Linked DNA regions of Homo sapiens: all the other regions are linked to region 4. Evidence: promoter capture Hi-C in 16 types of primary human blood cells and fetal thymus (Javierre and others, 2016). All regions are on one chromosome and are shown on one strand. Each heading gives the region's core, a stretch centred on a gene start or on the middle of the fragment in contact. The rest is flanking DNA. Distances are from core to core; before and after follow the strand shown. Region 1 has its middle 12 kb from the start of LINC03135. Region 2 overlaps TULP1 (TUB like protein 1). Region 3 has its middle 4.8 kb from the start of LINC03135. Region 4 holds the start of ARMC12 (armadillo repeat containing 12). Region 5 holds the start of LOC124901310 (a long non-coding RNA gene).

Region 1 (3,779 bases), core at 236-2,735, 210 kb before region 4:
ACCACTGTACTCCAGCCTGGGCAACAGAGCCAGACCTTGTCACAAAAAAAATAAATAAATAAAAGAAAAAAATTACAGGGAAGATTTCTTTTTTATTAAAACCTTTATGTGAAGTAAAACATACTTATTGCAGAGAAGTGCATAAAACATAAATGTACAAGTTAATGCATTACTATGAAGCCAACTCCTTTGTAACCTCAACTAGGTCAAGAAATAGATATTGTCAGGTGCCAAAAGCCTCATCCTTTTCCTCACCTTCAAAGGCACCACCACCCTGATTTCTATGGGTATGTGGATTAGTTTTGCCTGCTTTGGAGTGTTATATAAATGGAATTATACATTAATTTTTAAAATTTATTTTTAATTTTTATTGCCTTAATTAATTTTTAAACATTTTATTATTATTTTTTAGAGACAGGGTCTCACTCTGTTGTCCAGGCTGGAGTGCAGCGGCACGATCATAACTCGCTGCAGTCTCAAATTCCTGGACTCAAGTGATCCTACTGCCTCAGCCTCCCAAGTACCTAGGACTACAGGTGCCAGCCATACACCTGGCTACTCCCTATTATTTTTTATTTTACTTTTATTTATTTACTTATTTTGAGACAGAGTTTTGATCTTGTTGCCCAGGCTGGAGTGCAATGGCGTGATCTTGGCTCACCGCAACCTCCGCCTCCCAGGTTCAAGTGATCTTTCCGCCTCAGCTTCCTAAGTAGCTGGGATTACAGGTCTGTGCCAACACGCCCAGCTAATTTTGTATTTTTAGTAGAGACGGGGTTTCTCCATGTTGGTCAGGCTGGTCTCGAACTCCTGACCTCAGATGATCTGCCTGCCTTGGCCTCCCAAAGTATTGGGATTACAGGCATGAGCCACCGCGCCCGGCCTATTTTATTTATTTATTATTTATTTATATTACTTTTTGAGACAGTGTTTCACTCAGTCACCCAGGCTGGAGTGCAGTGGTATGATCATGGCTCACTGCAGCCTCAACCTCTCAGGCTCAAGTGATCCTCCCATCTCAGCCTCCTGAGTAACTGGGACCACAGGTGTGTGCCCAGCTGATTTTTTGAACTTTTTTAGAGACAGGGTTTCCCTATGTGGCCCAGGCTGGTCTCAAACTCCTAGACTCAAGTAATCCTCCTGCCTTGGGTTCCCAAGATGCTGGGATTACAGGTGTTAGCCCCTACACCTAACCCTATATTATTTTTTATAAGCTTTATTCTTTTGCTTTTCGTATTGAAGACTATAGCCCACCTGGAATTTATCTGTTGATGGTGTGAGGTAAGGGTCAGGTTTCATTTTTTTCCCCATAGGAGCACACTCAGTTGATTTACTGAAAAGTTTACTCTTTCCCTGTGTGTGTGCTTTTTTGTTTTTTGTTTTTTGTTTGTTTGTTTGTTTTAAGACAGGCTCTTGCTTTGTAACCCAGGCTGGAGTACAGTGGTGTGATCTTGGCTCACTGCAACCTCCACCTCTCGGGTTCAAGCGATTCTCCTGCCTCAGCCACCTGAGTAGCTGGGATTATAGGCGTGCACCACCACACCTAGCTAATTTTTGTAATTTTAGTAGAGACAGGGTTTTACCATGTTGTCCAGGCTGTCTCAAACTCCTGACTTCAGGTGATCCACCCGCTTCGGCTCCCAAAGTGCTGGGATTACAGGTGTAAGCCACCGCACCTGGCCTTCTGTAGTGTTCTTTGCAAATATTTTGTTACATTCATTCCTGTGTAATCGATTTATCATTTGATGCTATTCAAGAAGCTTATTTAAAGCCCAGGTTCTTGGCCAGGTGCGGTGGCTGACACCTGTAATCCAGCACTTTGGGAGGCTGAGGTGTGTGGATCACCTGAGGTCAGGAGTTCGAGACCAGCCCAGCCAACATGGTGAAACCCCGTCTCTACTAAAAGTACAAAAATTAACCGGGCATGGTGCTGCGTGCCTGTAATCCCAGCTACCTGGGGGGCTGAGGCAAGAGAATCACTGGAACCCAGGAGGCTGAGGCTGCAGTGAGCCGAGATTGAACCACCGCACTTCAGCTTGGGCGACAGAGCAAGACTCCATCTAAAAATAATAATAATAATAATAATAATAATAATAAAACCAAGGTTCTGACTGGGCATGGTGGCTCATGCCTGTAATCCCAGCACTTTGGGAGGCTGAGGCAGGCAGATCACCTAAGGCCAGGAGTTCAAGACCAGCCTGGCCAACATGGTAAAACCTCATCTCTACAAAAATACAAAAATTAGCCAGGCATGGTGGCAGGTGCCTGTAATCCCAGCTACAAGGAAGGCTGAGGCAGGAGAATCACTTGAACCTGGGAGGTGGAGGTTGCAGTGAGTTGAGATCACGCCACTGCACTCCAGCCTGAGCGACAGAGCAAGACTCTGTTTCAAAATACATAAATAAATAAAATAAAGCCCAGGTTCTCTGGCTCAACATTTGGAGAGTCTAAGTGAGTAGTTCTGGAGTGAGCCCAGATGGGAATTTTGAAAAAGCTCCTGGTGGTTCTGATGTGCAGATCCCATCCTGTCTTGCTGCACTCATTATCTCTTTTCAATCCCCTTCAGTCCCCCTCCCTCCCAGCTGGCCCACGCCCATAAGCCTGTGAACATGCTTAGTCTCCGTGTCTTAGAATAAACCTCCCCAAACCCCTCCAGGTCCTGGCATCGCCTTTTTCTCCCATTAATAGCCATACTTTTAAGGGTTGACCACACCTGTGCTTTCATATTTTTATACTCCTTATAAAACCATGCAGCCCTTCACACAGTTTAAAATTGACATCTAATTCAAACCATCCTTACCCACACCTACTCCCCCCTCTGGTCTACCAGGCAGTCTCTCTTCTTCTACCAGCTTATACCCCTCCAGCCTCTGCAAAACAGTTGTGTGTGTGTGTGCGTGTGTGTGTGTCTTTTGTTTTGTTTTTAGAGATAAGGTTTTGTTCTGTCGCCCAGGCTGGAGGACAGAGGTGTGATCATAGCTCGTTGCAGCCTCAATCCCCTGGGATCAAGCGATCCTCCTACCTCAGCCTCTCGAGTAGCTGGGAATACAGGTGTATGCCACCATGCCTGGATAATTTTTAATTTTTTAATTTTAGATTTTTTTGTAGAGAAGGGGTCTAGCTATGTTGCCCAGGCTGGCCTCAAACTCCTGGCCTCAAGCAATCCTCCCACCTCCACCTTCCAAAGTGCTAGGATTATAGGCGTGAGCCACCATTCCTGGCCTGAATGATCTATTTCCATCCCTGGATTATTTCTCTTTTTCTTATTGGTGTGTAGGAGCTCTTTGTAATAATATAGATATTAACTTATCTGTCACATGGATTTCAAATGTCTTCCCATTTTATTATTCCCTTTGACTTTGATGAAGGTATCTTTTGCTATATACAGTTTTAAATGTTTATGTAATTTTATATGTGTATCTCTTCTCCTATAGCTCTGGTTTTCTGGTCTTAGTTTGAAATATTTTATATACTCTGGCCGGGCACAGTGGCTCACCCCTGTAATCCCAGCACTTTGAAAGGCTGAGGTGGGTGGATCACCTCAGGTCAGGAGTTTGAGACCAGCCTGACCAACATGGCGAAACCCTGTCTCTACTAAAAATACAGAAATTAGCTGGGCATGGTGGTGGGCGCCTGTAATCCCAGCTACTCGGGAGCCTGAGACAGGTGGATCGCTTGAACCCGGGAGGCGGAGGTTGCAGTAAGCTGAGATGTGCCATTGCACTCCAGCCTGGGCAACAGAGAGAGGCTCTATCTCAAAAAATTATATATATTTTATA
Region 2 (3,941 bases), core at 69-2,568, 230 kb before region 4:
TCAGCCTCCCAGGTAGCTGGGACTCCAGGTGCATGCCACCACACCTGGCTAATTTTTGTATTTTTAATAGAGACGGGGTTTCACCATGTTGGCCAGGCTGATCTCGGACTCCTGACCTCAGGTGATCCACCCGCCTTGGCCTCCCAAAATGCTGGGATTACAGGCATTAGCCACTGTGCCCAGCCTAAATACATACATTTAGGAAATAAGGCCTGACTCAGGCATCCCCTTCCTTCAGCTCTCAGATTTGTGGTGAGGATTAGATGAGATGTATGGGAAGACAGCACAGGATAGTGCTGAATATATGTTCATTCACTTGATCAGTAAATACTTGTTGAGTAGCTAATATGTGTTCAGTGCTAGGAATTCAGCCCTAAACAAGGCAGGCACAGTGCCTGCCCTCGTGGAACTTATGCCCTGCTCCAAGTGAGGCCCTGGGCTGGCAGCAGTGTGGGCATCGCCTGGGTGCTCATTAAAAATGTAGACTCCCGGGCCCACCCCACACACTCAACCATTTTAACAAGCTCCCCACATGATCTATGTACATCAAAGCGAGAGGCCCTAGGCTAGGGGACGTTTCCAGGGTGCCCACTGTGGTGGGTGCTCTACCAGGCACAGCAGGACAGAGATGACGGGCTATGGCCTTTTGCTGACCCAAGTCCCCCCAGCCCCAGGAAGCCCAGCCCCACCTCAGCTTCCCGATGAAATTCTCCCCTCCTCGGGACAGATTGGTAGGGTCGATGGAGATGAGGTAATTGGCTGTCTTGCTCCGTTTTCGTTTCCTGCCAGCCAAGAGGAACACCTGGGGAAAAGGGGAGACAGGTGAGAGGATGGGAAGAGAAGGTGGGAAGGGGTGGAGGTGAGCTGCAGGGAGAAATCAGGCCCGTTTGTCCCGTGGCCCCCATGCCGGATCCCTCCACACTCCCTCCTCTGCTGCCTCTCCCCACCCACCTTCTTCTCCGTGTCCAGGTGCAGGAAGTAGGAGGGATACATGCCTCGATCCATGCCCTTTTTGTCCCGGGTCAGCCGGCAGCGCACCGTGCGGCCCTGGGGGGCAGGCCGGAGCACAAACTCCCGGGGTTCGTCCACCTCCACGGGGGGAGACGGGGCCCTCTCCTCCTTCTGGGTGGGGGCAGAGGGTACATCAGCCCCAGAGCACCAGCTCCCCCGCTCCCAGCAGGTCCCAGTGCTGAGACACGGGCAGCCCGGCAGGACAACTCACCGCTTTCTGTGTGCGGAGAGAACAGAGAGGCTGGCTAGAGCAGGGGCCGCATCCCTGGAGGCGGGGAAGCCACTGCCCCTCATGCTCCCTGGCAGCCCGGCACGGCCAAGTTAGGAGGCTCTGGGGAGCTCTGTGATTTATTTTGATTCTGCTTAGCTTGTGGATAGGAGCACACACTCTGGAGCCAGACTGTCTAGGTTCAAATCCTAGTTTCACTACTAACTGTCTTCACTGTTAAGTTTCACCACACTGTAACTCAATTTTCTCATCTGAGAAGTAGGTATAGTAGGGGTGGATACCTGGGACAGACCTTACCTATGTATTTAACACACGCTTGCATAAATTCTATCAGGGTGCCATAGTTTCAAGTACTTTCGAAATATTTACTCATTTCATCCTCTTATCACCCCACTGCGATAGTCATCCCCATTGTATAGATGAAGAAACTGAGGCTTAGAGAAGTTAAGTCACTTGCCCAAGTTCACATAACTAGTAAGAGGTGGGGCTGGGGCATGAGTTTTGTCCAATCTCCTATGAGGTCCAGAGCCTTTAGAAAGACCTTCCCTCCTTTGCACACTGTCTCAGGCAGTGAAGTGGGGCTAACAGAATGGACTGCTGTGTTCTAAGCACTATGGAAGTGTTAGCTGCTACTCTTATTGTTAGCGTATAGTAAATAATGAATACCATAGTCAAGATGATATTCATTATCATAAGATGGCACCCAGTGATCCTTGTCTCCTGGTATTTGTGCCTTTGTGTAGTCTCCTCCCACTGCATACCAGGGTTGGTCCCTGTGACCAGTAGAATATGGCAGAAGTGATCATGGGCCACTCCAAGGTTAGGTCATAAAAGATATTGTGGCTTCTATATGGCTCTCTGTCTCTTGGACTTTGGGAGAAGTTGGCTGCCATGCCATAAGAACACTCAAGCAAAAAAAAAAAAAAAAAAGAACACTCAAGCAGCCTCCAGGAGAGGTCCCTGTAGGAAGGAACTGAGATCTCCAGCTAACACCTACCACAGGGAACTATTTTAGAAGTGGATCCTTCATTTCCAGTGAAGCCTTCAGAGTGACCGAAGCCCCAGCTGACATTTTGACTGCAGCTTCCTCCGAGACCCTGAGCCAGAACTACTCTGCTAAGCCACTCCTAGATTTCTGGCTCTCAGAAATTGAATAAGAAAGTAAATGTTGTTTTAAGATGCTCAGTTTGGGGTGATTTGTTACATAGCAATGCATAGTTAACACATGAATGAATATGTAAGCTCACTTTGCTCATTGAGAAACTCCTAAGAACAATTTGGTGACATAAAGCCCTAGGGTGGCCTGGTGACCCCACAACAGCCCCTTCTGTTCTCACAAACCTGGTGCCCTTTGTCCTCATGTTCTATCCCTCACAGGAAGGGAGCCAAGAGTCTAAGCCCAACTTTTCCAACAGAGGCAAGCATGGACTGCCAGCCTGGGTGTGTGCATTTGAGGGTTCAATGCTATTTGGGAGCCACGAAGAATCCACAAAGATGTGCTGTGGTTGGCCATTTTTTAAAATTTATTTTTTATTTTTTTGAGATGGAGCCTCGCTCTTGTTGCCCAGGCTGGAATGCAGTGGCGTGATCTCAGCTCGCTGCAGCCTCCACCTCCTGGGTTCAAGTGATTCTCCTGCCTCATCCTCCTAAGTAGCTGGGACTACAGGTGCGCATCACCATGCCCCGATAATTTTTGTATTTTTAGTAGAGATGGGGTTTCACCATCTCTACTATTCGCCAGGCTGGTTTGAACTCCTGACTTCAAGTGACCCATCTGCCTCCTCCTCCCAAAGTGCTGGGATTACAGGCATGAGCCACTTTGCCTGGCCATGGCTGTTTTTGTTGAGCACAGGTTTGCAGTGTGTTTGAGGGAGGCTGATGTAGAGCAGTGAACCCTCAGCTCAGGGACAAGTGATCACCTGTTCTCTACTCTAGGTTGTTCCAGAAGAAACCTGGGAAACAAAAGACTATGTTTGGAACACGATGTGGAGAAAGCCAGAACTTATTCAAACACTTCAGCAGCTGCAAATTTCAAGAGCCTACTGTACTGAAGGCTGTTCTGCAGTTACATTCCCCTCTGGGAGACAGTAAACTGGCCTTTCAGTTTGTACATCAGCATCTGGTGATCTTGGTTAATGTGAATCAGTCCCCCTAGACCTGACCACTCCTGCACAAACTAATAAACCTACAAAGCTAAAATCCAGGCCCTGTCCTCGTGGTGATCTTCCCACTGGGAGAAACCTGTTCCTTGAAGACTTTTGTTACTTTCTGTCAGTTGGACCTCCCTCTCCTGCTTACTCCAGCTTTTGTGTGTTGGTGTCTGAGTCCTGTTTGGGAGCAGGGGCAATATTCAAAATATTTAACAACCTGTTCGCCATGGAGATGCATACTGGTAAGCTTGGAGGAGAAACAGGGAGGCTCCTGATGGGCAGTATTAACCCTTTCGTTGCTGGAGTGTTTAGTTGCTGGGAGGTTGGGAGGTCCTGGGTAAGGTGAGTGAAAGCGCCTGGGGAGCTCAGGGCTGTAGGGTGGAAACATTTTAACAACCGGTGCAGCTGACTGTCAGTCAGTACTCATCTGCCTCTCTGCCTGTGTGCTCCTCCTCCCTGGCACAGAAAACATGGTGGGGGCGTGGGGACATCTCTGGCTGTCTGATGGTTATGCTCCAGAGGGGAGGCCTCAGAGAGCCCAGATGACATAA
Region 3 (3,638 bases), core at 513-3,012, 190 kb before region 4:
TTCAATTCAGTTATATGATTGCTTGGAGTTTTAATTTGTTTTTAATTCTTTTTTTTTTTTTTTTTTATAGTTGAGATGGGGTCTTGCGATGTTGCCCAGACTGGACTGGAACTCCTGGGCTCAAGCCATCCTCCCGCCCTAGTTTCTTTTTTTTTTTTCTTTTTTTCTTTTTAGACAGAGTCTCGCTCTGTTGTCCAGGTTGGAGTGCAGTGGCACAATCTCAGCTCACTGCAACTTCCACCTCCCGGATTCAAGTGATTGTTGTGCCTAGACCTCCCAAGTAGCTGGGATTACAGGTGTCCACCACCACGCCCAGCTGATTTTTGTATTTTTAATAGAGACAGGGTTTCGCCATGTTGGCCAGGCTAGTCTCGAACTCCTGACCTCAAACGATCCACCCACCTTGGCCTCCCAAATGTTGGGATTACAGGTGTGAGCCACCACACCTGGCCTGCCCTAGCCTCTTAAATAGATGGGATTACAGGTGCCTGTTGCCATACCTGTAATCCCATCCCAAATCCATAAATTTGCTGTTTTTTGAATTTAAAACAGCAAAATAGAATGTCAGCTTAAGGTGTAGTTTTTTTTAATCAGTATAACTTTTAATTGGTACATGAAATATTTCATTTGATTGAATAATATTTTTAAAATTTGAAGTTAATTTTTTGTTTTAAAATTAAGTAATGAAGAAAATAATTATTAATGAGAACATGGTTATTAACTGAAAATCATTTCTTGTATAGAGAAGGGGGCATTGGAATGGTCCCCCAGGGTATGAAAGGCGTGAGTTCTACACTGAGCGCAGGCGTGGGAGCCCTTGCTCAGCCATCCCGGGAGCTCTGCTGTGCCAGACTATTAGCTTGGGCTCCCATCCTGGATGGCTGAGCTTCACCTTTGAGTATTTTCCTTAGGAGGAGCTCACAAGAGCAACATTCCTTGAGTTTTGCCTGTTCAGAAATGTGTGGGCTGGGTATAAACGTCTTGGGTTACATTTGCATCTTTCAGGATTTCTAGGTGTTGTTTGCTCCGCTGTCCTATAACATTGGGTCGCAGTTGCAGAGATGGGTGAGCCCCGCACATTCTTTTCTTCTTACTGGTGATTTGGTCCGTTAGCCTGTCAGTTCAAAGAATTGTATCCTTATCTGTGAACGTCAGTTCATTTGGAAATGTTGACTGTTTATATCCACTTTTATTGGGACATGGCCTTTGAAGATGCATAATCCTGTTTTCTTAGTGCTGGAAACAGTTTCAGGATTCTGTCTTCATGTTTGTTCTTTTGTTTCCTTAGGAACTACAACTGCGTATCTATTAGCTCTCTTGTCCGTTTGCCATATGTCATTTCCTTTTAGCTATCTAGGAAGAAGAGCTTACAGGGTAAACTTCCCATTTAACTATCCCCTTTCCATTTTCTCACTCACTTTGTTACAGTCCTCTCTGTGTTTTTGGTGGCATCTGCTTTTCCTGTGATACTTTCCATTTTCTCTTCTCCTCTGTGCTGCTTTAATTTTTCTCTTCCACGTATTTCCTGGGTTTTGCCAGCTCTTTCTCTCTCTCTTTTTTGAGACAGAGTCTCACTCTGTCACCCAGGCTGGAATGCAGTGACACAATCCTAGTTCACTACAGCCTTGCACTCCTGGGCTCGAGAGATCCTCCTGTCTCAGACTCCAAGTAGCCAGGACTACAGGCCTGCACCACCATGCCTGGCTTTTTTTTAATTAAAAAAAAATTTTTTTTCAAGATGGAGTCTTACTCTTTTGCCCAGACTGGAGTGCAGTGGCGCTTTCTTGGCTCACTGCAATCTCTGCCTCCTGGGTTTATGTGATTCTCCTGCATCAGCCTCCAAAGTAGCTGGGATTACAGGTGCCCACCACCAGAGCCGGCTAATTTTTGTATTTTTTTTTAGTAGAGATGGGGTTTCACCATGTTGGCCAGGCTGGACTTGAACTCCTGACCTCGTGATCCACCTGCCTCAGCCTCCCAAAGTGCTGGGATTACAGGCATGAGCCACCGCACCTGGCCATTTAAAAATACATATGTATTAATTTTTTTTTAAGAGATGGGGTCCCTCTTTGTCACCCAGGCTGAAATGCAGTGGCATGATCATAGCTCACTGCTGCCTCAAATTCCTAGGCTCAATAAATCTTCCTCACTCAGCCTCCTGAGTAGCTGGGACCACAGGTGCATGCCATGCCCAGCTAATTTTTAAATTTTTTGTAGAGATGGGATCTTGCCATCTTGCCCAGTCTGGTGTAGAACTCCTGGCCTCAAGCAATCCTCCCATCTTAGCCTCCCAAAGTGCTAGAATTACAGGCAAGAATCTACTAGGCCTGGCCTATTCTTAATTTTTTGTAGGGATGGGGTCTCACTATGTTGCCCAGGGTGGTCTTGAACTCCTGGCCTCAGGTGATCCTCCTCACTCAGACTCCCAAAGCACTGGAATTACAGGCATGAGCCACCATGCCTGGCCTCAGTTTCTTTCTTTCTTTCTTTTTTTTTTTTTTTTTTCTGAGACGGAGTCTCGCTCTGTCACCCAGGCTGGAGTGCAGTGGCATGATCTTGGCTCACTATAACCTCCGCCTCCTGGGTTCAAGTGATTCTCCTGCTTCAGCCTCCCAAGTAGCTGGGATTACAGGCACTTGCCACCATGCCTGGCTAATTTTTTTTTTTTTTTAGTAGAGACAGGGTTTTACCATGTTGGTCAGGCTGGTCTCGATCTCCTGACCTCAAGCAATCCACCCGCCTCAGCCTCCCAAAGTGCTGCAATTACAGTCGTGAACCAACGTGCCTGGCAACCTTAGTTTCTTATTTGTGCTTTGGCTTTACGGAAGAGTTTTTTTTTTTTTTAAATTTTTAAATGAAATACTTATTTGAATTTTTCACCTGCTCAGTGGTAAAAATTTTCTAATAAGTGTTCTTCAGTTTTTGTATATTTATCTTGTTCCTTTCTTCCTTTTTTCTTTTTTTTAAATTTATTTTTTATGTTGTAGAAACAATGTTTCCCTGTGTTGGCCAGACTGGTCTTGAATTACTGGGCTCAAGTGATCCTTCCCTCTTAGCCCCCCAAAGTTCTGGGATGATAGGCATAAGCCACCACACCTGGCCCCTTTCCTCCTTTTTTCTTCTAGTGTCTTTGCATAGATCCCCTACTGATTCATCTTTAATTTATTTGAGAGGGTGAGCTTTTCAGGTGGAATAAGAGCCAGGGCCTTTTCCAAGGAGTAGGTCAATGCTGGGGCAGAGTTGTCAACTGCCAGGCTGACTGTGGAAGGCACACCCCAACATGCACCCAGAGCCCCTGGGCAAAGGCTGTGAGGCTTGCTGGTTCCAGGCAGTGACAGAAATCTGTGTCATCATTGGCTGACCACTAAGCTAACCAAGAAAAGACTTCAGTAGCCATATACAACACAGAATATAGACTTCACAGAATTAAGTCAGAAAAGTCACTAAGCAAACAACAGTAATTACAACAAATCCTGGGGAGGGAGAAGAATCTATTTCTAGAGCTGCCACATCTTGTTATTCAAAATGTCCATTTTTCAAAAAAATTATGAGACATGAAAAGGAAAAAGAAAGTATGGACCCATACACAGGAAAAAAAGCAACCAGTAAAAACTGTTCCTGAGGAAATCCAAACAATG
Region 4 (3,552 bases), core at 839-3,338:
GACTCTGCCTCTAATCTCTCTGAATCATTTGAAGGCAGAACCAGAAGAAATGGGCCTTAGGTGTGGCAGGAGGGAGTTAGGTTGCAGCCAAGAAAGAACACTTTTTGGAGGTCTTTAAAGAACAGGTGAGCCTTACCTGTGCTTAGGAAGTGAGGGTTGCAGAATCGGCTCCATGGGATGGAGGGGCCAGTAACTCTGGGTCCCACCCTGGAGAAGGGCAGAGCAAGGACCTTGTCTTGAGGGATTTATTCTCAGATCCACCAAAGTAGCCTGGGAACCTAAATGACAGTTCCCATCAGGCAGCCGTTTTCTGCTCGGAGTTCAGTGGAGATGCGATGGGGTTGCATGGCAGTGGGGAGGCTTCCATGGGCTTCTACTCACCCCTCACCACAGGGAGTTCATGTAGTCACCCACCTTGGGGCTAAATAGAGTGCCAGGAATGATGACCCTTGAGGAGGGCTGAGGACAGGAATAGAATGGCCACCCAGGAGTGTTGCTTGTTCCCTGCCTGCTGCCTAGGGTGTACTGGGCCAAGGCTCTGAGTGGGCAGGCCTGGCTGGCCGCAGCATCATTGGAGATGCTGTTTCCCTACCTCCTTCCATCCTGGGTGCAGCCCAGGACCCAGAGCCTTCTGTCCCAGTTCTCCCAAAAAGGGATCAGGGCCAGGTAGGTGAACACCTGTTCTGGTGCAGCATGCTCAGCACTGGCTGTGGGCGTGGCCCTAGTTTGGAGCTGGCCACTTGCCTGTTCTGCAACAGAGAGTGGGGACAGAAGTTGCGGGGAGACCCTGGTGGGGAAGAGGGAAGGGTCTGGTCTCACCTGCCCCATCCTAGTGGTGGGGATCAAGACCTCCACAGGTGGGCTCACATCCTCTGGGGTGGTGGCATCTTCTGACTCCAGAGGACCTCACAAGCCGCCTCATATCCCTGGGGAGGCTGAGAGGTGATACTTCCAAATTTAGCTGAAAGGCACAGACTTACCCACATTTTAATCCTGGAGTTTTAGAATGGTAAATCCGAATCCCTTTAGGTTACAAATGCAGAAACAGACTAAGGCAAAGGCGATCCCTTTCTCCTCCAAGGTCACTCTGGTTAGAAGGGTCTGGAGCCCCAGTTACTAGATGCTGTCATTGTTCTGCCGCCAAGTCCTTAAAGAATGGCAGAACATGACTTAAACCACCTGCTAAGTACAAGATTCTATGCTGGAGATGCAAAGGTAGCTGTCCTCAAGAGCACTTTGTCAAACAGGTAAACTTCAGGGCAACATGCAGATGCTGGAAAAGGGTGGATTTGCCTCAAGAGTCTGTGCATGCTTTCTAAGATACTCCCCTCCTTTTCATCCTCTGATGCGGGGAGGGAACCCTACCTGAAGAAACACCCCAAGGCCCAGGGGTAGATCTAGGGTGGAGAGATCACATATGGGAGGGCCCGGAAAGAAAAGGAACAGGGTTGTCAATGGGCATACCCCAAACACCTCACCCAGAAATGCCCTAAGGCCCCAGCCCGGAAATGGACCTCTGCTGCCCTCTAATGGTGGAAAGGCAGCCTCTGGAGCTACCTGCTGGGGTCCCCCCTTAAAGAAGAGGAGATGTGAAGGACACTTCTGCCCTCTCCCCTTTTATTCCCCTTCTGTCTTATGCTTCATCTCCTGTGGTCTCTAAAGCAGAACCTTCTCTTTTTTTTTTTGAAATGGAGTCTTGCTCTGTCGCTTAGGTTGGAGTACAGTGGCGTGTCAGCTCACTGCAACCTCAACCTCCCAGGCTTAAGCGATTCTCCTGCCTCAGTCCCCTGAGTAGCTGGGATTACATGTGTGCGCCACAATGCCTGGCTAATTTTTTTGTATTTTTAATAGAGACAAGGTTTCACCATATTGGCCAGGCTGGTCTCGAACTGCTGACCTCAAGTGATCTGCCTGCCTTGGCCTCCCAAAGTGCTGGGATTACAAGTGTGGGCCATGGTGCCTGGCCCCATCTGTTCTCGAGCACTCCTGGCTGCCCCATTTCCTGACCACTGCCCTCCATCCCATTATCTCCCCAGTTTCCTTTGTTGCCTAGGTTCCAATTCTGGTACCCTGGTTCCTGACCCTGCCAGAGTTCTGGTTCCGGAAGGCCCCCCACAGGTGCCTTGGGCCTAGCTCTCACCTGGGCCCAGGGCAACACTGAAGACATGGGCAAGAGCATCCCCCAATACCTGGGGCAACTGGACATCCGCAAAAGCGTAGTCAGCCTGGCCACAGGCGCCGGGGCGATCTACCTGCTCTACAAGGCCATCAAGGCTGGCATAAAATGCAAACCACCCCTCTGTAGCAACTCACCCATCTGCATCGCCCGTGAGTGTCCGGGCCCTGGGGAGAGGGCTCTGCCCCAGGAGGCACCTGCTCCCGAGGCCTCTGCTGTGGGAGGGCCCAAAGGTGATGCCTCCAAGTTCCTCTTTCCTTTGTCTTTCTCTTGTCCATCTTCCTCAAGCCCACCCTGCAGCGTCCTAGGCAAGGCCCTGCCAGAGATGCTAGCTCAGGGTCCCTGGATCTCACTCAAGTGGATCCTCAGACTCATCTGGCAGGTCTCCAAATACTACATTTCCTCTGGCTCCCAGGATTCCACTTCTTGGAAACTTGGTGTCGGCAGCTCCCCCCATCCCTTTTCTGCCCTAGGAACGTGAGGCTTTAAGGAAAGGGAAGATTGGAGGACTTACTATATGCCCAGAGCTTCCACTAGTCCACATGTTCTTTTGTGCAGAGTAGGAAAATGAGCCCCTTCTGCAAGACTCTTTATTGCCATCTGCTGGAATATCATTGCCACATACTGGTTATGATGAAATACTACTTGTTACCGCCATATGCCAGACAGTTGTTAGAGTAAATGGACAAATCTATGATGGTACGTTATGGACAATACAACATTAGATAGGGTGCCCTTGTGCAGTAAACATTCGTTCAACTGTACATGGTGGTCCTGCATATGGCGAGAAGGCTTCTCCGAAAAGGCAAGGCAGCCTTGTCCCCAAGTCCCTGTCCCCTACTTCCCAACCCCATTCTTTCATCACTTCTGAGTCCACAGCCTGAACTGGGCTGGGGTGGCTGTCTAGGCCTGGCAGTCGAGCGAGAGCGGCACGGGCGGGACTCAGGTGAGCTCCGGAGGCTCCTCAACTCTTTGGAGTGCAAACAGGATGAGTATGCCAAGAGCATGATCCTGCACAGTATCACTCGCTGTGTGTACTTGCTGGAGGCTGAGGTAAGGGAAGCAGGAGGTCCCCCCTAGCCGGCCTGGCCCCTGGGGGTTACGGCCGATCCCTGCCCCTGGAATGGCCAGACTATATCCTGGGACCTCTCTCTGGCTGATAGCGGTGGGGGGGGGGTGTGCGGAGGGATCTTGGTGACATGGGGGGCAGTGGGCCCAGAACACCCGCTTCTCCTGCCTCTTCCATCTCTCCCCAATACTCCAGGCCTCTGCTTGTACTACGGATGACATCGTGTTGCTGGGCTACATGCTGGATGACAAGGACAACAGTGTCAAAACCCAAGCTCTGAATACACTTAAAGCTTTCTCTGGCATCA
Region 5 (4,028 bases), core at 111-2,610, 170 kb before region 4:
TTTTTTGGTCTTTATGGGAGAAGATGGGGACCGCAGCTGGAGGGGAAGGCAAGGGGCTGAATGGAAAATGGGTACTGCTTGGGAAAAGGCAGCTTGCTTGGCTATTTGGTCAGCTAGATTATTTGCCCGGCTTTCAAAGGAAGGGTTTTCTTTTTACTATTTTCCTGGGAGTTTTTAATTTGACCTCGATTGGAGGAACTGGTAATTTCTCTCGATGTCCTTTTTTTGACCATGTATCAGGATGGATACACTTTTCATAATCTGTGGTGGTAAGTTCAGGGAGGTGAGAAGTTTTCCCTGATTAATGTAGAGGCTTAAGCCAAATTTTAACATTAGATCTCTCCCTAATAGGTTTGTTCTTGCCTCTGGAATTAACAGAAATTTAATATTAGCTGATCTGCTTTTATATATGACTTTTGTTTCTTTTTCCCATTTGGGACATTCTCTTTTGAAGTGACCTATTCTTTTACATTTGAAACATTTGTTTTGTCTTCTTTCTCTCTCTCTCTGCCTCTCTTTCTCTCCCTCTCCCTCTGGCTCTCTGTCTTTTCCTCCCTCTCTCTCTCTGTCTTTCTCTTTCTGCCTCTCTTTGTCTCTCTGTCTCTCCTTGCCTCTCCATCTTCTCTCTTTGCCTCTCTTTCTCTCTCTCCCTGACTCCCTCCATTCCCTCTATAGGCTGATCTTTCCAGTTCTCTGTTTTTGTAATTTCTTTGTGATATTTGGCTACTAGTAACAAAATGGAGCTTTAACATCCCCTGTCCAAGGGGATCCTTTATGTTTAAGCCTGTATATTTTCTTACCTGTTCCTTGAGTCTGTTTAAAAACTCCGTGGGCCCTTTGTTTTTTCCTTGCTGCATATTAAATGCTCGGGAAATATTTTGGGTTTGAGGCACTGATTCCCGAATCCCTTTAACTATCATTTTCCTAAGGCCTTTCATGTTTTCTTGGTGGGCTGCATTGTTATTATCCCATTGGGGGTTTTGGGCCGGCGATTTTTGTTCTGCTGCAGGGATATTTTGACTGGGAAGGTGTTTGCGCTCTCAGACTATCATAGCAGCCCTGCGGATCATGGTTCTTTCCTCTCCCGAAAAGAGAATACTTAAGATGGACATTAGCTCAGCCCAAGTGTATACTTGTGGTCCTAAAAATCGGTTAATTTGATCCACAACCCTAAAAAGATCATCTAATAGTGGTTTAAGTTTCTTCCTTAGGTTTCTGACCTCTGAACTAGTTAAGGGGCATTTACAAAGCCAATTTCCCCTCCTCCTAGAGGCACTTCCCTTAAGGGAAAAAGGGTTGGGGTAGACTTTTTTGAGGAGGAGGGGAAAGGGAAATTTTGAATCCCATGTGCTAGTGGACTGTTTGGGGTTAGGGATTTTACTTTCTTTAGGGGAGGTATTTTCTGGCTTTTTTTCCTGCAGTTTTTAGGGGGTAGAGGACAGGCCCCTGCCGCCAGTGCAGGGCATAGTCTATTTCTTCCTGGGAGACAGGACTTTTGTTATTTACATACTTTATTAAAAGTTGACAAATCTAATCCTTATTTGACCCAAAACTTGGCCAGAAAACTAAAGGTTTAAGAATAGTTTCTTTGGTTCAAAAAAAACAACAATATTTTATCATCTGTTGCTTTTTCTTATGTTTGGTCCTTTGTAGTTCTTGTTTTACTAGGGGTATTTCCCATCCTGGAAGTTAATGGGGGCTCAGTCTCTCCTATTAGAGATTTCTTGCACCCTTTTCCCTGAAGGCTCAACCTGAGTGTGTGTGGGGCTCAACCTCTTTTTTTTTTTTTTTTTTTTTGACACAGAGTCTCGCTTTGTCACCCAGGCTGGAGTGCAGTGGCACGATCTTGGCTCACTGCAAGCTCCACCTCCCAGGTTCACGCCATTCCCTGGCGTCAGCCTCCCGAGTAGCTGGGACTACAGGCGCCCGCCATCACGCCCGGCTAATTTTTTTTTTTTTTTTGTATTTTTAGTAGAGATGGGGTTTCGCTGTGTTAGCCAGGACGGTCTCGATCTCCTGACCTCGTGATTCACCCGCCTCGGCCTCCTGGCTCAACCTCTTTTACTAGAGATTGTTTTTTTTTTGCTCCCTTTCCCTGGAGGCTCAGCTCCCCCACTGGAGATTTCTTGCACTCCTTTACTTTACTCCACACTCGCTTTGCACTTAATTGTGCATCTTATTTACACACTTTTAACCTCCAAACTGTCCCTACCACCAAGGAAGTACTTCACCACCCCCACAGTTTTTCTTACCTTGGTCTGTGCATAGCGTTACCTGCTCACCACAGTAACTGTAGGCCTTTTCTTCCTGTGTTGCTAAGAGTCTGGGTTTATTGGTTGCACTGGGTGGGTCCCGATTCTTTACCCTTGAGGCCACTGCAATGAGTTAGCGGGATGCGTCTCCTCATGAGAAGTGATCAGAGACCCTTTCCCGGAGGAGAATGAGGTCCCCATATGGGCCACCAAATTTGTTGGAAACAAATGCTCAGTGCTGCAAAGAAGAACCAGCACTGAGACAAAGGATCTCTCAGCAAGGCAAATTTGCTTCTGCAGAAGGGTGCTTCTTGTAGGTCTGGTCGCCACGAGAGCACCCCAAACAAAGGAGGGAAGGGGTTTTTATTCCTAACACAGCTTGTGCCCGCTACTGTGTCCTGTCTCCATTGGCTGGAGCTGGACCAATCCAAGCTGAACCCGGTTGGCTAACTTGAAAAGTGCAAGAATGCGGTTACACTGGTGGGGGGTGGGAGGAACAGTTTCTGCGGGGAGGGTCGTTGTGACGGGAGGGGTAATTCACAGAGTGGGTAGCAGATGTGGAATGTGGGCTGTATAGATAAGGACTGGTGGGAAGGTTGTTTACCAGGGCAGGGGGACACAGAGAGTAAGGAAGTCTGGCCTTGAAAGGAGGGAACAGAGGACAAGGAAACTTAAACAAGCTAAACCTTTGAAGAAGAACTTCTTACTGTATTTAACACTAGCCTGGCCAACATGGTGAAACCCCGTCTCTACTAAAAATACAAAAAAGCCGGGCATGATGGCCCATGCCCAGTTACTTGGGAGGCTGAGGAACAAGAATTACTTGAACCCGGGAGGTGGAGGTTGCAGTGAGCCAAGATTGTGCCACTGCACTCCAGCCTGGGCAACAGAACGAGAGACTCTGTCTCAAAAAAGAAAAAAAAAACCTGAAAAATTGTTAAGATGATAAATTTCATGGTATGTGTTTTCTACTATAATTAAAACAGTTGTATAAATATTAGCCATTGTTATTTCACAGGTGAGGAAACAAGAGATCCCAACACAGAGCTGGACCCAAACCAGTGCTCTTGCCAAACATTGGAGGCCTCTGTGTTCCTCAGATTGAGGAGGTCCTGATGAGGACATTATGAGGGGCCCTGTTTTGCAGTTATCACCGCAGAAGTGGGCAGCACTCTCTGTAGGAAGTCTGGTCTCGGCAATCATCCAGCCAACTGGGGTTATCTCAGGTTATAACTTGGTTCTGAGGCCCCGACTTGCAGCCTGAAGGTGGCTTGGTTTACTTACCTACTGTCACATTTGGTAACGGCTGAAGGGTAGAAGGGTGCAAACCTCACTGTATTGTCTTATTACAATCTGCTCCTTGTCAACCAGACAGCTGGGTTCAGAGAAAGCTTAGAAGCCCATATAGAAAGCCTTGCGTGCCCTTGCGAGAGACAGAGTGGAGAGAGAGAGGAGCATTTACCAACTCACTCAAGCAGTGTAGCTTTCTCTGCAGGGAAAGTGTGTTGGTGACAAAGGGGTGAGGGTTCCCAGAACAGTCAGGAAGTTTATTTACTTAGTTATTATTATTTTTTGAGACGGAGTCTCACTCTATCGCCCAGGCTGGAGTGCAATGGCACAATCTCAGCTCACTGCAAGTTCTGCCTCCCAGGTTCATGCCATTCTCCTGCCTCAGCCTCCCGAGTGTCTGGGACTACAGGCAGCCACCACCACGCCCGGCTAATTTTTTGTATTTTTAGTAGAGACGGGGTTTCACCGTGTTAGCCAGGATGGTCT

Evidence for each region. The method cuts DNA at HindIII sites, captures the fragments that hold promoters and counts their contacts. A CHiCAGO score of 5 or more calls a contact.
Region 1: a contact is called between a fragment that was not itself captured here and the fragment with the promoter of ARMC12 in region 4, in 10 of 17 cell types (activated CD4 T cells, naive CD4 T cells, M2 macrophages and 7 more). The highest score is 10.1, in activated CD4 T cells.
Region 2: a fragment that was not itself captured here is called in contact with the fragment with the promoter of ARMC12 in region 4 in 1 of 17 cell types (naive CD4 T cells); the score reaches 5.4 in naive CD4 T cells.
Region 3: a fragment that was not itself captured here is called in contact with the fragment with the promoter of ARMC12 in region 4 in 5 of 17 cell types (non-activated CD4 T cells, activated CD4 T cells, total CD8 T cells and 2 more); the score reaches 7.0 in non-activated CD4 T cells.
Region 5: a contact is called between a fragment that was not itself captured here and the fragment with the promoter of ARMC12 in region 4, in 17 of 17 cell types (non-activated CD4 T cells, naive CD8 T cells, total CD4 T cells and 14 more). The highest score is 15.4, in non-activated CD4 T cells.

Annotation. Positions count from the first base shown.
Region 1 is chr6:35,529,760-35,533,538 of GRCh38, forward strand. No RefSeq gene overlaps it. Among named protein-coding and RNA genes, the nearest start is that of LINC03135, 12 kb to the right of the region's middle. The HindIII fragment of the contact is 546 bases long and covers 1,213-1,758 here.
Region 2 is chr6:35,505,052-35,508,992 of GRCh38, forward strand. It overlaps TULP1 (TUB like protein 1), which reads right to left. Exons shown (of 15, transcript NM_003322.6): 9 at 1,223-1,228; 10 at 952-1,122; 11 at 690-802. It overlaps LOC124901309 (a long non-coding RNA gene), which reads left to right. Exons shown (of 2, transcript XR_007059561.1): 2 at 3,176-3,443. Among named protein-coding and RNA genes, the nearest start is that of TULP1, 5.9 kb to the right of the region's middle. RefSeq lists a silencer at 3,310-3,510. The HindIII fragment of the contact is 4,634 bases long and covers 1-3,635 here.
Region 3 is chr6:35,546,633-35,550,270 of GRCh38, forward strand. No RefSeq gene overlaps it. Among named protein-coding and RNA genes, the nearest start is that of LINC03135, 4.8 kb to the left of the region's middle. The HindIII fragment of the contact is 7,468 bases long and covers 1-3,638 here.
Region 4 is chr6:35,734,944-35,738,495 of GRCh38, forward strand. ARMC12 (armadillo repeat containing 12) reads left to right here and starts at 2,089. Exons shown (of 6, transcript NM_001286574.2): 1 at 2,089-2,328; 2 at 3,084-3,229; 3 at 3,441-3,552. The coding sequence starts at 2,166. LOC285847 (a long non-coding RNA gene) reads right to left here and starts at 2,004. Exons shown (of 10, transcript NR_027117.2): 1 at 1,898-2,004; 2 at 820-935; 3 at 137-421. RefSeq lists enhancers at 2,369-2,977, 2,978-3,552. The HindIII fragment of the contact is 11,422 bases long and covers 1-3,535 here.
Region 5 is chr6:35,564,362-35,568,389 of GRCh38, forward strand. LOC124901310 (a long non-coding RNA gene) reads right to left here and starts at 2,590. Exons shown (of 2, transcript XR_007059562.1): 1 at 2,253-2,590. RefSeq lists a silencer at 2,304-2,504. The HindIII fragment of the contact is 4,561 bases long and covers 1-3,641 here.